Regions from separate parts of the Homo sapiens genome. Here all the other regions are linked to region 4. The links are contacts of gene promoters, found by promoter capture Hi-C in human tissues and cell types (Jung and others, 2019). All regions are on one chromosome and are shown on one strand. Each heading gives the region's core, a stretch centred on a gene start or on the middle of the fragment in contact. The rest is flanking DNA. Distances are from core to core; before and after follow the strand shown. Region 1 overlaps HACL2 (2-hydroxyacyl-CoA lyase 2). Region 2 has its middle 3.5 kb from the start of SYDE1. Region 3 holds the start of EPHX3 (epoxide hydrolase 3). Region 4 holds the start of NDUFB7 (NADH:ubiquinone oxidoreductase subunit B7).

What was found. Contacts are between HindIII fragments. The study calls those that stand out against the background at their distance.
Region 1: a fragment that was not itself captured here is called in contact with the fragment with the promoter of NDUFB7 in region 4 in 1 of the 25 tissues and cell types used here (dorsolateral prefrontal cortex).
Region 2: a contact is called between a fragment that was not itself captured here and the fragment with the promoter of NDUFB7 in region 4, in 4 of the 25 tissues and cell types used here (H1 embryonic stem cells, bladder, lymphoblastoid cells and 1 more).
Region 3: a contact is called between the fragment with the promoter of EPHX3 here and the fragment with the promoter of NDUFB7 in region 4, in 1 of the 25 tissues and cell types used here (mesenchymal stem cells).

What each region holds. Positions count from the first base shown.
Region 1 is chr19:15,117,343-15,122,967 of GRCh38, forward strand. HACL2 (2-hydroxyacyl-CoA lyase 2) reads right to left here. Exons shown (of 16, transcript NM_006844.5): 5 at 5,550-5,625; 6 at 5,351-5,462; 7 at 2,640-2,739; 8 at 2,076-2,173; 9 at 1,824-1,960; 10 at 539-673. Among named protein-coding and RNA genes, the nearest start is that of ILVBL-AS1, 4.0 kb to the right of the region's middle. The HindIII fragment of the contact is 6,371 bases long and covers 282-5,625 here.
Region 2 is chr19:15,101,157-15,106,654 of GRCh38, forward strand. No RefSeq gene overlaps it. Among named protein-coding and RNA genes, the nearest start is that of SYDE1, 3.5 kb to the right of the region's middle. The HindIII fragment of the contact is 6,045 bases long and covers 1-4,990 here.
Region 3 is chr19:15,230,881-15,236,247 of GRCh38, forward strand. EPHX3 (epoxide hydrolase 3) reads right to left here and starts at 1,568. Exons shown (of 7, transcript NM_024794.3): 1 at 1,089-1,568; 2 at 896-981; 3 at 359-516; 4 at 82-210. The coding sequence starts at 1,331. BRD4 (bromodomain containing 4) reads right to left here. Exons shown (of 20, transcript NM_001379291.1): 20 at 4,639-5,367. RefSeq lists an enhancer at 1,318-1,819 and a silencer at 2,158-2,317. The HindIII fragment of the contact is 16,546 bases long and covers 1-5,367 here.
Region 4 is chr19:14,567,886-14,573,360 of GRCh38, forward strand. NDUFB7 (NADH:ubiquinone oxidoreductase subunit B7) reads right to left here and starts at 4,181. Exons shown (of 3, transcript NM_004146.6): 1 at 4,004-4,181. The coding sequence starts at 4,115. RefSeq lists an enhancer at 4,113-4,402. The HindIII fragment of the contact is 12,939 bases long and covers 1-5,475 here.

The sequences.
Region 1 (5,625 bases), core at 2,217-4,716, 550 kb after region 4:
CTCCCTCTGTGTCCACCCCACCATTTGTTCCTACAGAAGCATCTATCAGGCCGGGCGCAGTAGCTCTGGTCTGTAATCCCAGCACTTTTGAGAGGCCGAGGCAGGAGGATCACTTGAGGCCAGGAGTTCCACGCCAACCTGGGCAACACAGTGAGATGCTGATTCCACAAAAAAAAATTAACAAATTAGCCTGGCATGGTGGTGCATACTTGTAGTCCCAGCTACTCAGGAGGCTGAGGTGGGAGGATTGCTTTTGAGCCTGGGAGTTTGAGGGTGCAGTGAGCTGTGATTGCACTACTGCATTCCAGCCTGGGTGACAGAGCGAGACCTCGTCTCTAAAAAATAAAAATAAAAAAAATTTAAAGAAAGAAGCATTCATCAGTTTGAGAGCCAACTATTTGTCTCTGGTTGACTGGCTACCCCTAGGGCAAGGTCTGGGCCTCAATCACTGTACCAGGCTCAAGCCAGCTGCAGCAGAAACCAGGAGGAGAGGGACTGGGAGGAGCACATATGTGTACGGGGGGATTAAGGGGCTCACCCTGCACAGCCTCCTGGGGCTTCCAGAAGATGTCTGAGTTGAGCAACATCTCTTCCCGATTACGATTGACGATGATGATCTTGCTGCTGTGGCTGAGGACACGGCCATAGGATAGGCGGAAGTCACACACAGTTCCTGGTGTGGGGGACAGGAATGCAGTAGGCAGAGGCCCCATGTCGTCTACCTTACTTGATCCACTGTGGTGGACTGGATGCAAATGAGTCCCTGTTCCTCACCGAGTCTCCCTGCACCTGTGCCACCTACAGTGACCTTGCAGCTCCCCACACCCCCTGAATCGGGACTGGCCTCATGACATGCTTTGGCCAACAGGATAGGGCAGAGGCAGGTTATATTTTCCCAGATGGCCATAATATCTCCCACCCTACATCCATTTGTACAAGGTCACCTTGACATGCCTCCCATGGAGAGAGGTGCAGCCTAGGTCCCCTTTCCTTGAAAGTGACACACCATGACACCCAACAAGGAAGATATGCAGTTTCTTCCTTGTTCACTTTTAGAGGCCTGGGTGGGGCCAAGGAATGTGCTCTCTGTCTAAGAAGTCTGACTACCCTGAGGCCATCATGCTGGGAGGAAACCGGAGCCACACATAGAGACCTGTGTAGTTGCCCTAGTCCACAGCCCCTCCAACAGCTGGCGTCAATTGCAAGACCTCTGAGTGAAGACACCTCCAGATGATTCAGGACCCCCACCCCCCATTCCTGCAGACTCTACTTCAAGAAGCCACACAGCCTCCACTCACTCTCTTGAATAACCGCACTCTCCTAGCCCCATAGTTTTCTCATCCTTCACCAAGTCGGCCAGCCCAGGCTAGCCTACTGGAGGATGAGAAACAAGGGGGCCATGGAGACAGGGGTGAAGAACTCTATGACCCCAGCTGAGGCCATCCCAGACGAGCTGCAGGGCCAGCCAATCCCCATACAGGTGAGCAAGCCCAGCCTGGATCAGCACAGCTGCCTTCCTGCCTAACCCAAGTGCAGACTCATGAATGAGCCCAGCCAAAACCACAGCTACCACCTACCTTATAGGTGGATCTTGAGAAATCAGAAATGCATTTTTAGCCATTGAGTTTGGGGATGGTTGTTACAGGGCAGTAGCTATCTGATACACCTATTATGCGTCTGGTTGGGTTCAAAGCGCTTTATGTGAAAATGTGTATCAAGTACAATAGGTGCCCACTAGACCTTCCTCCTCCTTCGTGTGAAGCTGGGTAACAGGGTGAGGGGGTTCCTGGGGGAAGGAGGGAAAGGAAGAGGCTCAGGCCCACCTGCTAGGACAATGACATCCGCCTTCTTCAGGGCCGCACTGCGGTTCTCCCGGATGTGGAGGGGGTGGTTGCGGCCTAACAGCCCCCGTGCCATCCCTCCAAGGAAGCAGGGAACACCCAAGGTCTCCACGGCAGCCCTGGGAGTCCAGGCAGAGCAGAGGTCAGTGTGGCCGGGGCCTCCCGCCTCCCCAAGAGCACCCGAGGACTGGGGACTGGGAACGTGAAAACAAGGGCAGGGCTGGCGCTTCTCACCGAAGCTTGTCGGCAGACGTTGGGGTGAGCAGGGCCTGACTCCCCAGCACCATCAGAGGCCTCTTGGCCCGGCTCAGGATCTCCACACAGCGCTGAACCTGGAGCGAGAGGTGGGGATCAAAGGGCTGTCTTTTTATTTATTTATTTTTTTGAGACACAGTTTCACTCTGTTGCCCAGGATAGAGTGTAATGGCATGATCTCAGCTCACTGCAGCCTCCACCTCCCAGGTTCAAACGATTCTCCCGCCTCAGCCTCCAGAGTAGCTGGGATTACAGGCGCGTGCCACCATGCCTGGCTAACTTTTGTATTTTCAGTAGAGACAGGGTTTCACCATGTTGGCCAGGCTAGTCTTGAACTCCTGGCCTCAAGTGATCCGCCTGCCTCGGCCTCCCTAAGTGTTGGGATTGCTGCTGTGAGCCACCGCGTCCAGCCAAAGGGCCGCCCTTGAGTCGCCATGAGCACCCAAGATTAAGGCCCCAGTACTGACTCAGGGAGAGGGTCAGGGGGCCCTCTCCCCTCAGGGAGAGGGTAGGGTCCTCAGACACAAAAGAGAGGCAATTCACCTGCTGCGGGGAAGCCTGGGGGATGTCCAGGGGCAGCGGTCCCTCGGGCTGAGGCTCCCAGGCTCCTGCAAAGAGGTTGGCCAGGTAATTCTCTAAATACCTGCAAAAGGGAGGGGGAAGAAACCAAGTTGCCAGAATTAACTAACTACAAGGATTCCAGGATCTGAGCAAGGAAAGGGGCCGGGAGAAAAGCCAGGAGCAAAGTGGCATGGGGACAGGGTGGATGAGTGACACCTCAGGGACAGACGAACCCTAGTGGCCAGGTCTTCAACTGCCTGTTTGCCCTCGGTAGCCTCTGGGGTCCACCCCAACTCCACGTAGCCCCCCAGAAGCAAGGAACGCAGGCTCAGCATGCCAGGATTAAGCCTGTGGGTCCAACAGATGTGAGCTCAAGTCCTGGCTCTGTCACTTCCTAGCTGTGCAACTTAGGGCAAGTGACTTCACCCTTCTGAGCTTCCACCTCTGTCAATGTAAATATGAACCTCCCTCCCCAGGTTCAAGGATCTGTCCACTTAGGACATGAGGCGCTTTGCATGGGAGTTCTGAACACTGTCCTCTCCTGCTTCAAACAGGGTCTTCTCGGTCTCCTTGCTCACTGGGCCCCAGGGCCCCAACTTTCCTGAAGGACCTGTGCAGGGCCCTGGAGACACAAAGATAGATCCTGCCCAGCCCTCCCCTCAGGGGGCGCTCTATCCAGCGAAAGACAGACACATGGGCATTGGCAGGAAACAGTCGGAGCTCAGAGTCAGAAGCCTCTGCTTTCACCGTTAAGGACAGGCCAAGACAGCACAGAAGCAGCCCAGGATGGAACCGTGGGAAGCCCCGCAAGTAAAGAAAAGGCAAGGGAGGCTGAGGCAGGAGGATTGCTCGAGGCCAGGAGTTCAAGGCTGTGGTGAGCTATGATCATACCACTGCACTCCAGCCTGGGTGATAGAGTGAGGCCCTGTCTCAAAACAAAACAAAACAAAAAAGGCAAGATAAGAGATAGCCTTGTGAGAGGCAGCCCAAGAGAGAGGGGCAAGGAGAACAAGGGGAGGGACTGACTGGGAAGCCAGGGGGCAAAGTGCATTAAGAATGAGGCTATATGACCAAAATGGTGAAACCTCATCTCTACTAAAAATACAAAAATTAGCTGGGTATGGTGGACTGCACCTGTATTCCCAGCTACTCCGGGGGCTGAGGCAGGAGAATCACTTGAACCCGGGAGGTGGAGGTTGCAGTGAGCCAAGATCGCACTACTGCGCTCCAACCTGGGGGACAAAGCGAGACTCCGTCTCAAAAAAAATAAAGAGGCCATAGAACAAAATCACTACTGCCTGAGCTGACCCTCAGGCGCTTCACACACATCCGGAGTACAGGAGCCTGACTACCTTGTCCACTGATGATGCCCCGTGCCTGTCCTGGAACCTGGCACATGGCTGCCGCTCGCTAAATGTATGGAAAGGAAGGGCCAAGGACAGGCAAAGGGAAGGGACTGAGGGGAAGGGAGAGAAGGAGGAAGAAGAGGAAGAGGAGGAGGAGAAGAAAGGAAAGGAAGAAGAAGAAGAGAAGAGGCCAGGCGCAGTGGCTCATGTCTGTAATGTTTGAGAGGCCGAGGAGGGTGGATCACTTGAGGTTAAGAGTTCAAGACCAGCCTGGCCAACATGATGAAACCTCGTCTCTACTAAAAATACAAGTATTAGCCAGGTGTGGTGGCGGGCGCCTGTAGTCCCAGCTACTCAGAAGGCTGAGGCAGGAAAATCACTTGAACCCAGGGGGAGGCGGAGGTTGCAGTGAGCCGAGATCACGCCACTGCACTCAAGCCTAGGCAACAGAACGAAGAATCTGTTTCAAAAAAAAAAAAAAAGAAAGAAAAGGACAAAGATGTGAGGGAAGGAAAGGAGGAGGAAGGAGAGGGCTCGAGTCTGGGCTCTGCCACTTTTTTTTTTTTTTTTGAGACGGAGTCTTGCTCTGTCACCCAGGCTGGAGTGCAGTAGCACGATCTTGGCTCACTGCAAGCTCCACCTCCTGGGTTCACGCCATTCTCCTGCCGCAGCCTCCCAAGTAGCTGGGACTACAGGCGCCCGCCACCACGCCCGGCTAATTTTTTTTTTTTTTGTATTTTTAGTAGAGATGGGGTTTCACCATGTTAGCCAGGATGGTCTCGATCTCCTGACCTCGTGATCTGCCCACCTCGGCCTCCCAATGTGCTGGGATTACAAGTGAGAGCCACCGCACCCGGCCTGGGCTCTGCCACTTCTTAGCTGTGTGACTTTGGGCAAGTGACTTCACCTTTCTGAGCTTCCTCCTCTGTAAATGTAAGAATGAACCTCCCTTCCGAGGTTCAAGGATCATCCTTTAGGAGGAGGAAAACGGAGAGGACGATGGGAAAGGTGGTGGGGGAAAGGGAGGAGAAGAGGAAGGAAGAGGGAGGAGGAAGAGGAGGAAGAAGAGATGATGGAGGAGGAGAAGAAAGGGAAAAGGAGGAGGAGGAGGGCTGTCCTGAGCCTCTCCCCTTTGCTGCCTCCACGAGGGCCGCCTTGCTTTCCCTACCCACCCAGTTCATTCCTGCCTCAGGACCTTTGCACATGCTGTTCCTTCTACCTGGAATGCTCTCCCCCCAGCTGTCTCCTCCCAGTCCACATGTGAATCAAAGGAGGATGGGTGTGGGCTGGAAGCTGCAGGAGAGAACGGGGGATAAAGGAGGGAATGGCAGGGGTGGGGCTATTCACCAGGAGACCACTCGGCCCACGAGGCCCTTGGGTGGCTTGGCTGGCACCATCTCCTTCTGGACCATGAAGTAGGGGTACAGCACGTCAACGGGCAGCTCCACAAACACCGGACCTGCAGGGACAGGGAGGACGCTGAGTCCATAACATGTCCCCAGCCCCTCGGCCCCAGCACTGCTCAGCATCACCATCCTCCACCTACCTGGGGTGCCCGACTGGGCGGCAGCCATCGCGGCCCTCAGGGTGGGCACAATGTCCCGCACCCTCCGCACAGACAC
Region 2 (5,498 bases), core at 718-3,217, 530 kb after region 4:
GCAGCCACCCCTTTGCTGGTTCCTCTGAGGTCTGACTTCCAGCCAGGGAGGCCTAGGCAGGCTGAGGTATTCACCTTCTTCTCCTGGAAGATGCCAGATAGACGCAAGCCTCAGGTGTGGAAACAAATGGGAATGACCACAGCGGGTGGAGGAAGCTTGGGTCCTGCTCCCCAAAACCTTCTCTATCTCCCATCCCCCAGGAACTGAGCACCCCAGGGAGCTGGTAGAATGGAGATGTAGCCCCACAGAACCACGCCCCATGCCCATAGCCTTGAAAACAGCCTAATTTATTATTCCCTTTGCACATGAAACAGAGGCCTAGACAGAATGTCTGTGTTTGGAGTCCACCAGAAGCCAACCTTGAGACAAGGATTCAAGTATTTAGGAAATAAACAGGAAATACTGTAAGTGGGGTGGATATGTGGGAGAGGGAAGGGAAGGAAGTCAGCAAAGAGTGTATTGATAACCAGGTTTCTACAGTGGACAGCTGGAGCTCAATCCCGTGGGTGAACACTAGGGGTCAGTGTAGAACATGAACCTCAATCATCCAACACAAGGGTGAGGGAGCTGGGGTATTTATCCATCAATTCCCCTTGACTACCACAGAGGTGCTGAGCTCTGCCCAAAACTGACAGGAAATGGTCTTTTGGTCTTTCAACTAATTGGTCTATATGTGTCTGGGGCTGGTTAATCCACCAGGTACCAAAAGCACAGCACATCAGACCTGCAGCCAATGAGAACATTTAGGGGAAAGAAAACACACACGTGGCCAGGTGCAGTGGCTCACACCTGTAATCCCAGCACTTTGAGAGGCCAAGGAAGAAGGATCGCTTGAGGTCAGGAGTTTGAGACCAGCCTGGGCAACATAGCAAGATCCTGTCTCTACAAAAAAAATTTAAAAGCTAGCTGGGTATGGCAGTGCATGCCTATAGGCCTAGCCACTCAGGAGGCTGAGGCAAGAGGATTGCTTGAACCCAGAAGTTCAAGTCTGCAGTGAGCTATGATCACACCAATGCACACCAGCTTGGGTGACAGAGGGAGATTATGTCTCTAAAAATAATAAGGCCAAGCACGGTGGCTCACACCTGTAATCCCAGCCACTTGGGGGGCCAAAGTGGGAAGATCACTTGAGCCCAGAAGTTTGAGAACAGTCTAGGCAACATGATGAGACCCTATCTCCACAAAAAAATAGAAAAATCAGCCTGTGGCATGGTGGCACATGCCTGTAGTTCCAGTTGCTTGGGAGGCTGAGGCAGGAACATCACTTGAGCCTAGGAGGTTGAGGGTGCAGTGAGTTGTGGTAGTGCCACTGCACTACAGCCTGAGCAACAGAGCAAGAAAAATAAATAAAATAATAATAATAAAGTAAATAAAAATAACATGAAAATAATTTTTAAAAAATTTGAGACAGAGTCTTAGTCACCCAGGCTGGAGTGCAGTGGCACGATCTTGGCTCACTCCAACCTCTACCCTCTGGGTTCAAGCGATTCCCCTGCCTCAGCCTCCCGAGTAGCTGGGATTACAGGTGCCTGCCACCATGCCTAGCTAATTTTTATATTTTTAGTAGAAACGGGGTTTCACCATCTTGGCCAGGCTAGTCTTGAACTCCTGACCTCGTGATCCACCCGCCTCAGCCTCCCAAAGTGCTGGGATTACAGGCATGAGCCACAGTGCCCGGCCATGAAAATAAATTTTTTTAAAAGAAAAGAAAATGGGCCAGGCACGGTGGCTGACCCCTGTAATCTCAGCTCTTTGGGAGGCCAAGGTGGATGGATCACAAGGTCAGGAAATCGAGACCATCCTGGCCAACATGGTGAAACCCCATCTCTACTAAAAATATAAAAATTAGCTGCACGTGGTGGTGTGTGCCTGTAATCCCAGCTACTCAGGAGGCTGAGGCAGCAGCATCGCTTAAACCAGGGAGTCACAGGTTGCAGTAAGCCAAGATCGTGCCACTGCACTCCAGCCTGGGCAACAAAGCAAGACTATGTCTCTATAAAAGAAAAGAAAAGAAAATGTACGCATACAGGCTCTAAAATCTGTACAGCAACTAGCAAAATCCACAGGAATAAGCATACAAACATCATTATGAAACTTAGAATTCATAACCATTTCATTACATACAATTTGCAGATAATCTGTTCTCACTTATGGAAATTTCTGATTGCTAAGAAAGAATCAGAGCCAATGGTGAATTAAATAGGCTACATGCAGGCAAATAAAGACAACAGGAAAAGTACAAAAACTCAAAAAGATTTACACAAAATAATAATAATAAATATTTATGTGGTATGTGGGTGTCATATGGGTGGGGCTAAGGGTTGCTCTCACTCCCATGTCAGACCCCAGCTCCTCTGAGACTCTGAAATACCCCATTGGGACCTTAGTCCTGCAGCCTCTACCCTCAACTTGTAAACAGGTATTGTCTTGACCCCTGACTTCTTTCCCCATTGTCAATAGCTGCCTCAAAGACATCTGCGCAGGGATCTCATAGGGAGGAGGGTGCACTCCACCCTTTTACAGACTGATGCCCCCCAAACACACATATCCAAGAAAAGTGAACAGCACCTAGGAGAACTGTATATCAACAGTTGTATAATGAGTATACCAATATATGCATAATGAGAGTCCCAGAAGGAGAGAAGTGAAAGGAGCAGAAAGAATATTTGATGAGGCTGGGTATGGTGGTTCATGCCTATAATCCCAGCACTTTGGGAGGCCAAGGTGGGCAGATCACTTAAGGTCAGAAATTTGAGACCGGCCTGGCCAACATGACGAAAACCCATCTCTACTAAAAATACAAAAATTAGCTGGGCATGGTGACAGGCACCTGTAACCCCACCTACTTGAGAGGTTGAGGCAGGAGAATCACTTGAACCCAGAAAGCAGAGGTTGCAGTGAGCCAAGACCATGCCTCTGCACTCCAGCCTGGGCAACAGAGTGAGACTCCATCTCAAAAAATAATAATAATAATATTTGATGAAATAATGGCCAAAAAACTTCCCAGAAGCCCAGAATTGATGAAAGACATGAATCTACATATCCACAAAGCTCAACAAACTCCAAGTACAATAAACACAGAGAACCACACAAAGACACATTAAAACCAAACACACACAGCCTCCTCGTCCAGGCCTCTTGGACACCCCCTCCTATACAGACCTCCATCACCTGACACCTGATCTCCTACCTGAATATTCAGCAGTGAACAACATAGACAAGCATCACTTGATCACTTGGTGGAGACCCAGTCTGGACGAGGAGGCAGATAAACTAGAACAAACCACTGGGACTGTTAAATTCAAGTTGTGGCAAGTGTTAGAAGAAAGGAAACTGAGTAATGTGATACTGACTAGACAGAGGTGGTGGACAGAAAGGGTCTCCCTAGAAGGTGCCATTGGACCTAAAGGATGAGAGAGAGGTGGCCTCAGAAGAACCAGGGCTTCCCAGGCAGAAGGAACCATGTGTGCAAAGGACCTGAGGCAGAAATAGCTTGATATGAAGGAGAACCAGAAAGGAGGCCATGGTGAGTGAATGGGACAGCCAAAGAGATGAGGCTGGAAGTCTTGTGAGACCATGCTGGGAATCTGAATTTTATTCTAGGTGAGGTGAGCAGTCATAGGAACACTATTCAGCAGGATGGTGCCACAATCTGATTTCAGTTTTAAGTCCACTGTGGGTAATATATGGAGAATGAAATGTAGGGCTAAGACAGGTTATATTTTCCCAGATGGCCACAATATCTCCCACCCTACATCCACTTGTACAATGTCACCTTGACATGCCTCCCATGTAGAGAGGTATAATCTGTGCCCCCTTTCCTTGAATCTGGTGGCAGAAGTGACACAGCATGACACTCAAGGCTGGGTCAGAAGAGATGCAACTTCTTCCTTGTTCACTTTTAGAGGGCTGGGTGGCTGTCTAAGAAGTCTGACTACCCCAAGACCACCATGCTGGAAGGAAACCCGAACCACACGGAGAGGCCTGTGTAGCTACCCTGGTCCACAGCCCCAGCAACAGCTGGCGTCAGTTGCAAGACCTCTGAGTGAAGACACCTCCAGATGACTCAGGACCCTGCCATTTTTTAGTCACCCTCTAGCCTAAGTCTCCCCTGTCCAAACTGAACCACAGCATCTGTGAGCATCATGTAAACCAAAAGGTATCTCAGATAAGTCTCAATAAATTTAGAAAGCTTATTTTGCCAAGGTTATGGACATGCCTGTGACACAGACTTAGAAGCTCCTGACAACATAAACTAGGGTAGTCAGGGCCACTACCTTGATTCAGGTCTGTAATCCTAGCTACTTGGTAGGCCAAGGCGGGCAGATCACTTGAGACCAGGAGGGTTTTTTGTTTTGTTTTGTTTTTTTGTTTTGTTTTTTTGAGACGGAGTTTCACTCTTGTTGCCCAGGCTGGAATGCAGTGACACAATATTGGCTCCCTGCAACCTCCGCCTCCCGGGTTCAAGAGATTCTCCTGCCTCAGCCTCCCGAGTAGCTGGGATTATAGGCATGCACCACCACCCCCAGCTAATTTTGTGTTTTTAGTAGAGAAGGGGTTTCCCCATGTTGGTCAGGCTGGTCTCGAACTCCCAACCTCAGGTGATCCGCCCGCCTTGGCCTCCCACAGTGCTGGGATTAGAGGCGTGAGCCACCGCACCCAGCCGAGCCCAGGAGTTTGAGACCAGTCTGGGCAACATGATGAGACTCTATCTCTACAAAAAGTAGGGAAATTAGCCAGGTATGGTGACACATGCCTATAGTCCCACTTGCTCGGGAGGCTGAGGCAGGAGCATCACTTGAGCCCAAGAGGCTGAGACTGCAGTGAGCTGTGGTGGTACCACTGCACTCCACCTTGGTCTAGTTTTATATATTTTAGGGAGACATGAGACAGCAATCAATATATGTAAGATGCACATGGGTTTGGTCTGGGAAGGCAGGACAACTCAAAAGTAGGGAGAAGGCTTCCAGGTTATAGGTGGATAAGAGAGAAACAATTGCATTCTTTCGAGTTTCTGACTAGCCTTTCTGAATATGCAATTTACAGAGATAGTCACTTATGCCTTAGTCTGGCTTAGTGAAACAAATAGGTAAGGAAGCGATCAGATATGTGTTTGTCTCATGTGAGCAGAGGGACAATTTTGAGTTCTGCCTGTCCTTCATCCATAAGGAATTTCCTTGTAGGCAAATTGTGGGGGAGGTATGTAGCTTTTTTTTTCTTTTCTTTTCTTCTTTTTTTTTAGACGGCATCTTGCTCTGATGACCAGGCTAGAGTGCAGTGGTGCAATTTTGATTCACTGCAACCTCCACCTCCCGTGTTCAAGCAATTTTCCTGCCTCAGCCTCCCAAATAGCTGGGATTACCAGTGCCCACCCACCATGCCTGGCCAATTTTTTTTCTTTTTCATATTTTTAGTAGAGATGGAGTTTCACCATGTTGGCCAGCCTGGTTTCGAACTCCTGACCTCAAGTGATCCGTCGCCTCAGCCTCCCAAAGTGC
Region 3 (5,367 bases), core at 318-2,817, 660 kb after region 4:
ACAGAGAATTGAAAACACAGACACATGTCCCTGCCCCCTTGCACATAAGTACATCCCAGTGTCCCGGACTCCCACACACACCTTGGTACACCGACATGGGGGCACCACTGACCACAACCATCCGCTCGACCAGGGATGGGTAGTAGATGGAGAAATGCCAGGCAAGGAGGGCACCCCAGTCATGGGCCACAAGGATGCACTTCGAGTAACCTGTGGGAATTCAAGGAGCTCGCATAAGTGAGGTGCCCAGTAGGACTGAAGCAGGGATGGGGGAAGTAGGTTCCAGCAAGGAGAAAGCGGGGGTATGCGTGTGTGCAGGATGAGGGAGGCCACGCCTAGGATGGGGGTATGTCTGCACCCAGGCCTAGGATGACATCTTTGATGTCCACCAGCAGCAGGTCGATTGTGTAGCAGTCCACATCCCGAGGTGCATCCGAGGGGCCATAGCCTCGCAAGTCCACAGCCACAACATGGAAGCGGCTCTGGAACTCCCGGAGCTGGTAACGCCAGGAGAACCTGCCAGGCGGGCGAGGGAGGGAGGCTGAGTCAGGGCCCTCAGGTTGCACCTGCACCCTACGCACATCAGCAACCATTGGCAAACCCTCCTTCCTGCTCTAAACTTCCCCTAAAAGGAGGATGGGGAATCCCAGGCAGAGGCAGAGGCTGAGGCTGAAGCCAGCTACACCCTGAATCCAGGGAACTTCAATCAACCTCAATACCCCTTTGTCCTGTCCCTTCAGGGCCTAGGGATCCTGGGTATGCTGGCTCAGTACCCCTATCCCCATCTATGTTCAGCTTGTCCCGATCTATACAGCCCTCCTCCCTGCCTCTTGGGAGCCCAAGCTCCACCTGCCCCCGAGTCCCGTGGGCCTCAGGCCCCTGGCCCCAGACGTACCAGTTCTCAGGGAAGCCGTGCAGAAACAGCATGAGGGGTCCGTTACCTCGTCCAGCCGAGACATAGTGCAGACGCAGGCCCGAGCTCTAGGGGGAGGGCACAGCCTGAAGCCTGGGGAACCCTCTCTCCCGAGGCTTGAACCGTCTCGACCCCACGCGACCCCGCAGCCCCGATAGCGCCCCCGTGCGATCACCTTGAGGTTCAGGAAACCGTGCTCACCCAGCGAGGGGTCGCTCAGGCAGGCGGGGGACGCGCTCCGACGGCGCCCGCAGCAGCCGCGCCGGGGCCGGCACAGCACGTGCGTGAGCGCTATGCAGCCGTAGACCGCCGCGGCCACCAGCGCCACCGAGAACACCAGGCTCCACATGAAGGCGCGCAGCAGCTTCAGCGACAGGCGCGACGGCGCCAGCAGCGCGGTCACCACCAGCTCCGGCATGTCGCCGCGCTCCGGGACCACGGCGGCGCTGCCGGCCAGGGGCACCTGCAGCAGCGGCGAAGCGGTGTCAGGGCTCAGGGGCCCATCGCCCTTGGCCTGGGGCCCCTCCGTGCCGTCGGGATTTGTGGGACGCGCTGAAGGAAGAGGCGGGCGGCTCCGACAGAAAACAGCCAGAGCGCACCACTCACCTGAGTGCCAGGTAAACACCTGGGCGCGACAGGGACAGGAAACAAGGGTAGGGTGCGGAGGCTGGGGAGGAAGAGGTTGGAAAGGGGGGAAATAAATGGGCGGGGCCTAGCAGGTCCTGTGCGGGGCTTAGGGCCGGGGCGGGGCCCAGGAAGACTCAGCAGCGGGTGGGTGAGGGTCTAAAGGCGGCAATTCCGGGCCGGGTGCGGTGGCTCACGCCTGTAATCCCAGCACTTTGGTAGGCCGAGGCGGGCGGATCACCTGAGATCAAGAGCTCGAGACCAGCCTGGGCAACGTGGTGAAACCCCGTCTCTACTAAAAATACAAAAATTAGCTGGGCGTGGTGGCGGGCGCCTGTAGTCCCAGCTACTTGGGAGGCTGAGGCAGGAGAATCGCTTGAACCCGGGACGTGGAGGTTGCAGTGAGCTGAGATCGCGCCACTGTACTCCAGCCTGGGTCACAACAGGGAAACTCCGTCTCAAAAAAGAAAAAAAAAAAAGGCAATTCCGAGCCCAGACAAACCTTAAGGAGGGGATCCTGGATCTTCAGTTAAGTGGGCGACACCTGGAGTGAGGGGCGGGGCATATGCAGAGTAGGTGCGGCCTACAAGCCAAAAAGGAGAAAGAGTTGGAATGGTGGGCCTGGCTTATGCGGGTGGGCGGGGAGAGGGTGGATCCTAGAGGAGGTGAGGCCTAACATTGGGCGAAGAAGGCGGGAGCCTGGGCCAATGAGCTGACGGTAGGCCGGGGAGGGGGCGGTGGGGTGGGGTGGGCAATGGGCAATGAGACGGAGGGCGGGGCCGGGACCTAATATGGCGGGTCAGGAGGGTCTGGAAGACGAAGAAGAGGGACAGGCAATGCCAGGTCTAGGACTAGGAGGGAGGCGCGGGCGGTATTAGCGGCTGGAGGAGGCTTCGGGAGGCCCGGCCGACGGCCGCCGCCTGGTGCTACCCACCCAGGGGCGCGCGACCCTCCCTTCGGTCTGGCTCCAAAGACCTAGCAGCACTGACTTCACCCAGCTGTGGTTCCAACGGCGGGTCCAGCGGCCTCGGCCCGGCGCCGTCCTCCTGCTGGCCCAACAGGCCCGCCAGCCCGCCCCTGTACGTCTGTGATTGGACGGCGGCGGCCACTGATGTTCAAGCGACAGGTCCTGGCCCGGGAGCCAATCTGCAGGTGTTGAGGCCCAGGCTCCGAGAGCGGGCCGAGGAGGCGTGGATACCCTGATTCCTAGGGGGCAGGCCTGGTTCCCCCGAGGAGGACCCGGCCTATGAATGACTGGAGTTCTGGGGTTCTGGCCGAAAGAGGAAGTGGGACAGGGCCGGGTGTGATGGGGCCTAGAGTCACAGAGCCTTGCGGCCCTGCTGTCCCTGCAAGAAGCCAGCTTCTGGCCAGGCGCGGTGGCTCACGCCTGTAATCCCAGCACTTTGGGAGGCCGAGGCGGGCGGATCACGAGGTCAGGAGATCGAGACCATCCTAACATGGTGAAACCCTGTCTCTACTAAAAATACAAAAAATTAGCCAGGCGTGGTGGCGGGCGCCTGTAGTCCCAGCTACTAGGGAGGCTGAGGCAGGAGAACGGCGTGAACCCAGGAGGCGGAGGTTGCAGTGAGCTGAGATTGCGCCACTGCACTCCAGCCAGGGCGACAGAGCGAGACTCCGTCTCAAAAAAAAAAAAAAAAGCAGCCAGCTTCTTCCTCCTATTTTGCAACCTTCTCCCGATATCCTTGAACATTTTAGGGACAGCCATCACTTAACCATAGAGCAACCCTATTAAGTCTAAGTAGCATAATCACATTCCTGTAGTATAGATCATGAACCTGAAATTCGAGGATGAAGTCATTTGCCTGAAGACATACATCTTGTAAAATAGCCATCCGCAAAGATGTAGGGAAAAAGGCAGCGATCTGTGGCTACACCTCCCCTTCCTCCCGGAAGCAGCCACTGGAACGTTTTTAGCTTTTTCTTTTTTTTTCAGATGGAGTTTCGATCATAGCTCACTGCAGCCTCGAACTCCTGGGCTCAAGCACTACAACCTGTAGTTGGGACTACAGGCCTGTGCCACCACACTCAGCTAATTTTTCAAAAACTTTTCAGAGAGACGACTTGCTATATTGTCCAGGCTGGTCTCAAACTCCTGGCCTCAAGCAATCCTCAAGCCTCCACCTCCCAAAGTGGGATTACAGATGCAAGCCACCGTGCCTGACCTTTATTTCTTGACTTAACCAATGTATGACATCAGCCACTGACTTGCTCACATCACTACCCCGGACGTGCCGTTTTTTGTTTCCCTGTTAGTTTCCTTTAAAAACACTCCACTTGTCACCTCTTGCCCCTTTCCACCTCCCACTTTTATCCATATACCTTTGTACTGTCAAGGCTGCTAAACATTATACTGTCCTGGGACCATAACTAAGTCCATGAAGTTGCCACTTAAAGGTGAATAGTGGTTTATGTTCTGCCTCAGTGAACAATGCATCTCAAGAGCCGAATAGACCACTATGATTACATTGCCCATAGTGTACAAACTTTTGTTCTCCCTGGACTACTTAACCACTACCTTTCTTTTGTTGTGTGATTAGCCTACATCAAAGCTTTGGGGGTTTTTTTGTTTTTGTTTTTTTTGAGATGGGAGTCTCACCATATCACCCAAGCTGGAATGCAGTGGTGTGATCTCGGCTCACCGCAACCTCCGCCTCCAGTGTTCAAGCAATTCTCCTGCCTCAGCCTCCGGAGTAGCCGGGACTACAGGTGTGTGCTACCGCGCCCCGCTAATTTTTTGTATTTTTCAGTAGAGATGGGAGTTTCACCATGTTGGCCAGGCTAGTCTCTTAACTCCTGACCTCAAGCGATCCTCCCACCCCGGCCTCCCAAAAGTGCTGGGATTACAGATGTGAGCCACCGTGCCTGGCAGCTTTTTCTTTTACACCTTCCATTAAATCAATTATCTCACAATTTGATGTTCCCAGGATCTCTCCCAACCGACTCCGCTAATCTGGACGCATGGGTGGTGGGTGTCTGGGGAACCTCCCTTCTTCCTCTCCTACACATCACTGACCCCCCGCCCTCATCTCCCCGCTTCTCCCAAGTCTACCCTCAAACAAAAAGCAGCCATCACAGGAGAGTAACTTTATACTCAGTACAAATGTTTATTTTTGCAATGAGAACTGCACAAAAAAAAAAAAAAACCTTTCGTATGTAAGTGAAAAGTCTACGAATTCCCTTCTACAAATGTCTAAAGTGTTTAATACAAGTCTCAGATTCACTGACATAATTATTGGCCAAGCGATCCGTGCATACAGTACAGTGGGGGCTTGTACACACCTCTTACTCTGGTATAGGACTAAGATTTCTAGTACTGTGGGAAGGGTTGGGAAATGGCTGGAGAAATTAAATAGATCCCAGTTCTAATTACAACCCAGGTAGAGAGACACCCATCAGGGAGGTGTGGAGAAGGCCATGGCTGAGTTAAATCTTCAGCAGGAAGCTGCAGAGAAAACTATCCAGCTCAGCAGTTGGACCCAGGCTGGGGAAGTGTCTGAACAAAACAAGGAACAAAAATGAGTGGGTGGGATGAGATGGAAGAAACCCCAAAGAACCTAAATACGTCACACTTGAAGTGGCACAGTGGTATATGAGAAAGTGCCTGAGTGGGCATGGACATCGAAGAAGTGGGGGGACCTCTGGCTGGATGCCTGAACCACACCCTCACAGGGAGGTTTGGCAGATCCAAAGACAATAAAGGACCTTTCAGGTCAAAAAGAGGGGATGTAGGAGAATAAACAGTGCTAGAAATGTTTCAATCAGTTTGTCTCTGCATACATATAAATTATATACTTGTATCTTACATCTTA
Region 4 (5,475 bases), core at 2,931-5,430:
CTACCCCCTCACTGCCCAGACACGGGCTCTCACAGGGCCACCCAACAGCCCAGGACCCCAGCCTCCCGCTTCCTTCTTTCCTGTGGCTCCTCCCACATCCCTCCTCCCCAGGTTTCCTCCCATCTCTATGGCTGCCTTACCTTACGCTTTGTTCTGGGAGCCTTTTTCTTTTCTTTTGAGATGGAGTCTCACTCTGTCACCCAGGCTGGAGGGCAGTGGCAAGATCTCAGCTCACTGCAACCCCTGTCTCCCAGGTTCAAGCAATTCTCCTGCCTCAGCTTCCTGAGTAGCTGGAACTACAGGCGCCTGCCACCATGCCCGACTAATTTTTGTATTTTTAGTAGAGATGGGGTTTCGCCATGTTAGTCAGGCTGGTCTTGAACTCCTGACCTCAGGTGATCCACCCACCTTGGCCTCCCAAAGTGCTGGGATTACAGGTGTGAGCCACTGTGCCCGGCCTGAGAGCCTTTTTCTCTGCTGCCGCCCCGTATGTAGATGAGCCCGATGTGGTCCCTCCACCCCACACCTCGCTTGAGCCCCAGGCCTGGGTATCACCTGCAGCCCCTGGCTGTTCCCTATCTGCACTTGGAGCTCCAGGTGGCAATCCTAGACTCCTCCCTCTTTTGTCTTGAACTTATAATCAGCTAGCAGCAAGGACTTTAGACTGCCTACTGTGTGCTTAGTGGTGGGGATACAGCAGGCAACACAACACACAAGTGTCCCTGCCCTCAGAGGGAGACACAGAACAGACAGAAGACAGAGCACCACAGCGTGTCTGGCAGTGCTTAAGTATTAGGGAGACCAGCCTGGGGAGCACAGAAAGATCCCATGTCCAGAAAAAAATAAAATTATCTTTGCACGGTAGTGCACACGGAGTATCCAGAGCTACTCGGGAGGATCGCTTGAACCCAGGAGTTTGAGGCTGCAGTGGGTGATAACCACCCCACTGCACTCCAGCCTAAGCAACAGAGCGAGAGCCCATCTCTACAAACAAATAAATAAATATGGGCCAGGCGCGGTGGCTCACGCCTGTAAACCCAGCACTTTGGGAGGCCGAGGCAGGTGGATCACTTGAGGTCAGAAGTTCGAGATCAGCCTGGCCAACATGGTAAAACCCTGTCTCTACTAAAAATACAAAAATGAGTCAGGTGTGGTGGCACGCACCTGTAATCCCAGCTACTCGGGAGGCTGAGGCGGGAGAATCGCTTGAACCGGGAAGGCAGATGTTGCAGTGAGCAAAGTGACTGGCTGAAAGGGGGTGGAAAGGAGGAAAGAGAGGGCAGGGGACAGTGATCTAGGAGGGAGGGAGAGAGTGAAGGATCCGGGAGGTAAGAGAAAGGCCAGGCACCATAAAGAGTCCACTGGAGTACCAATCGGGAGACCGGTCAGCAGGGACTGCAGGAATGCGCCACCACACCCAGCTAATTAAAAAATAAAAATAAAAAATTGTAGAGACAGGGCCTTGCTATGTTGCCCAGGCTGTTCTTGAACTTCTGGCCTTGAGCAATCCTCCTGCCTTTGCCTCCCAAACCGTTGGGATTACAGGCATGAGCCATTTTGCCTGGCTTAGAGCTGTTTTTTTCTTATCTCCCCGCCCCCCATTATGTTCAGTTGCACGGGGATAGGCACCAAGGAAGGGAAAGAGGTGAGTTTATCCAGAGTAAGCAAGAGAGAAGGGCAGCAGGTTGCTAGCGTTTGCAAAGCTGATCTTGGGGAAAGCAAGGTATGTGAGGCAGTGGGAGGAAGGTGGACGGACCAATGAACTGCAGGTTCAGCTGGGGCGGAAGGACTACCCGGAGTGTGGACACTGGAGTGATTATACCATCTCCCAACTTTCTCTCAAATCCAGGCTGCTTAGAGGTCTCTGTCTCAAGCTTGTCGCCCACTCAGTAGACAGTGTGACCTTTTGACCAACCAAAACTGATTGTGTCCCTCCTCTGCTTAGAAGCTTGGCTCTGCCACCTCTCTTTGGTCAACCCCTACTCATGCCCCTTCACATCTTTGTTTTGTTTTGTTTTGTTTTTTCAGACAGTCTCGCTCTGTCACCCAGGCTGGAGTGTGGTGGCCTGACCTTGGTTCACTGCAACCTCTGCCTCCTGGGTTCCAGCCAATTCTCCTGCCTCAGCCTCCCAGACAGCTGGGATTACAGGCATGCGCCACCACACCTGGCTAATTTTTGTATTTTTAGTAGAGTAGAGACGGGGTTTCACCATGTTGGCCAGGCTGGTCTCAAACTCCTGACCTCAGGTGATCCACCGGCCTTGGCCTCCCAAAGTGCTGGGATTACAGGCATAAGCCACCGTGCCCGGCTTAATTTTTGTATTTTGTTTTTGAGATGGAGTCTTGCTCTGTCGCCCAGGCTGGAGTGCAGTGGTGTGATCTCGGCTCACTATAACCTCTGCCTCCTGGGTTCAAGCGATTCTCCTGCCTCAGCCTCCTGAGTAGCTGGGACTACAGGTGTGCACCACCACGCCCCTGGCTAATTTTTGTATTTTTAGTAGAGACAGGGTTTCACCACATTGGCCAGGATGGTCTCAATCCCCTGACCTCGTGATCTGCCCGCCTCGGCCTCCCAAAGTGCTGGGATTATGGGTGTGAGACACCATGCCCGGCCTCAATTTTTATATTTTTAGTAGAGATGGTGTTTCACCATGTTGGCCAGGCTGGTCTCAAACTCCTGACCCCAGGTGATCTGCCCGCCTTAGCCTCCCAAAGTGCTGGGATTACAGGCATGAGCCACCACGACCGGCCACCCTTCACGTCTTTGTTTCCAGCCACTGCCTCTTGGAAGCCTGCTTTGACACCCCCAGCTCTGCCTGATTCCACAATCTTTCCCACTGTGCTGAGTTCTCTGGAGACAGTGCCTGCATCCCTCCAGTTCCCTGCTGTATCCGCGGTGCCTAATGTGGGACGTGGCCCAGAGCTGGTGCTCGGTATGCCTGTGATATTACTACATTAAAAGCAAAAACAAACACACGAACCAAAAAACCATCCTGGGCGTAGTGGCTCACATCTTCAATCCCAGCACTTTGGGAGGCTGGGCAGAAGGATCGTTTGAGCCCAGGAGTTTGAGACCAGCCTGGGCAACACAGCAAGACCCCCAACTCTACAAAAAATAAAAAATCAGTCTGGCATCCTGGGGCGCTCCTGTAGTCCCAGCTACTCGGGAGGCTGAGGCGGGAGGATCATTTGAGCCCAGGAGGTCGAGGATGCAATGAGCTGTGATTGTGCCACTACACTCAGCCTGGGCAACAGAGCAAGATCCCGTCTCAAAGCAAAACAAAGCACTTTGCAGGACAGTATTTGCAGCTCGAATCTTCCTTATTTCCTTGTGCATACCCCACAATTGCAGTGACATCAGGAAGGGGGTACAATGAACGTGTCCCTGCCCTCCCATGACTCCCCACGTCCCCCAAGACTTGGCCCGAGGCCGGGCGTGGTGACTGACTTCTGCGATCCCAGCACTTGGGGAGGCCGAGGCGGGCGGATCACTTGAGGTCAGGAGTTCAAGAGCAGCCTGGCCAACAAGGAGAAACCCCGTCTCTACTAACAATACAAAAAAGTAGCTGGGCATGGTGGTACACATCTGTAATCACAGCTACTCGCGAGGCTGAGGCAGGAGAATCGCTTGAACCCGGGAGGTGGAGGCTGCCAGTGAATCGAGACCAAGCCACTGCACTCCAGCCTGAAAGAAAAAGCGAGACTCCGTCTCAAAAGAAAAAAAAAAAAGACTCGACCCAGCTCTGCGCGTCGCATTCCTGCCCGAACCCCCACTTGTCGCCTCACTTTTGCTCCCTGGCTTTTGCTCAAGCCGTGCCCTTGGGCTGGAACGCCTCCACACTGAGGTGGGGTCATGCACGTCCTGTGGACTCCTAGTCTAGACCCAAACCCAGATACAACACCTGAGGTTAGAGCCCAGCCCTGGGGTGCCAGCCCTGGGGTGCCAGGTGTTCAGGCACCCGCGCCCCACGCCCTCTGGCTGCGCCTGCGCACTGGGCCTCACCGCGCTCCTTGCGTTCGGGGAAGCCGTAGTCTGGCGGGAAGGTTGGCATCTGCAGGGGGTCGGGCTCCACCGAGGCATCGCCCAGGTAGCGCCGGACCAGGTGGGCCCCCATGGCTGCAGTCGCTGCAGATCCCTGCAGCAGCCGAGGGTCACCTAGCTCCTACCCGGAACCACTGACCCCTCAGTCAGACACAGCTTCCGGGTCATTTAGGCAGCTGCGGAGATCATAGAGATGAAGGACTCCAGAGGATCGCTCCGGTCCGCCTGGCGTCACCTCGCGGACAGGCGGAGGCGGGACAGGTGCTGTGTCTCTTCGCAGGATATGGTTGGACCCGAGAGGGGACTTCCCTGAGCCTGGAAATCCATCTGGGCGGGGCAGAAGGGGACGGTGTGGGACTGAGGCCTCCCTCGACCCTATCTGGGGCTCTTCTGGTAGCCCGAGGCTAAAGCACATATTAAAATTATTTTTCATATCATTTTCCAAAAAGTTTTTTCTTTGAAAACATTCAAATTTCTCTTAAAAAAGGCACGATATCTATTATATCGTTAATGTATGTAATTTTGCATAAAGTCACTTTAAGAATTTTTTGTTTTTGGAGACACAGTACCTGTCGCCCAGACTGGAGTGTATTGGCGCGATCTCGGCTCACTGCAGCCTCCACCTCCTGGGCTCAAATTCTCTTGCCTCAGCCTCCTGAGTAGCTGGGATTACAGGCGCCCGCCACCACCCCCAGCTAATTTTTGTATTTTTAGTAGAGACGGGGTTTCGCCAGTTGGCCAGGCTGGTCTCGAACCCCTGACCTCAAGTGATTCCCCCGCCTCAGCCTCCCAAATTGCTGGGATTACGGGCATGAGCCACAGTGCCTGTCCAAGAAAGATTTTGATAAATTTAATTTAAATAAAAGTTATTCATAAATACAGTTATTATTATATTATTATTTTTTGAGATAGGGTCTCATTCTGTCGCCCAGGCTGGAGCACAGTGGCACAATCATAGCTCACTGCAACCTTGAACTCTTGGGCTCCAGGGATCCTCCCGCCTCAGCCTCTCAAAGTGTTGGGATTATGGGCGTAAGCCACTGTGCCTGGTCAAAAACAATTATTTAAAGCTGAAATTTCAAATAAATTATATATATATATGCAATCTTTATACAATTTTAAAATATATTAATATCTAATATTAATATCTAATATATATTTTTCCCCAGTCTGACAAAGCATGTATTAGGCATCTACTGTATGGTATGCTGGGTCCAGTGGTCAGACAGAAAGGCAGACGTGGTTCCTGTCTTTCAAGCTTACAGTCTAATGGAACAGAAAAACAGTCTAATGGAAAAAAAAAAATATGGGCCAGGGCAGTGGCTCACACCTGTAATCTCAGAGCTTTGGGAAGCTGAGATGGGAGGATCGCCTGAACTCAGGAGTTTGAGACCAGCCTGGGCAATATAGGGAGACTCTATCTCTACAAAAAA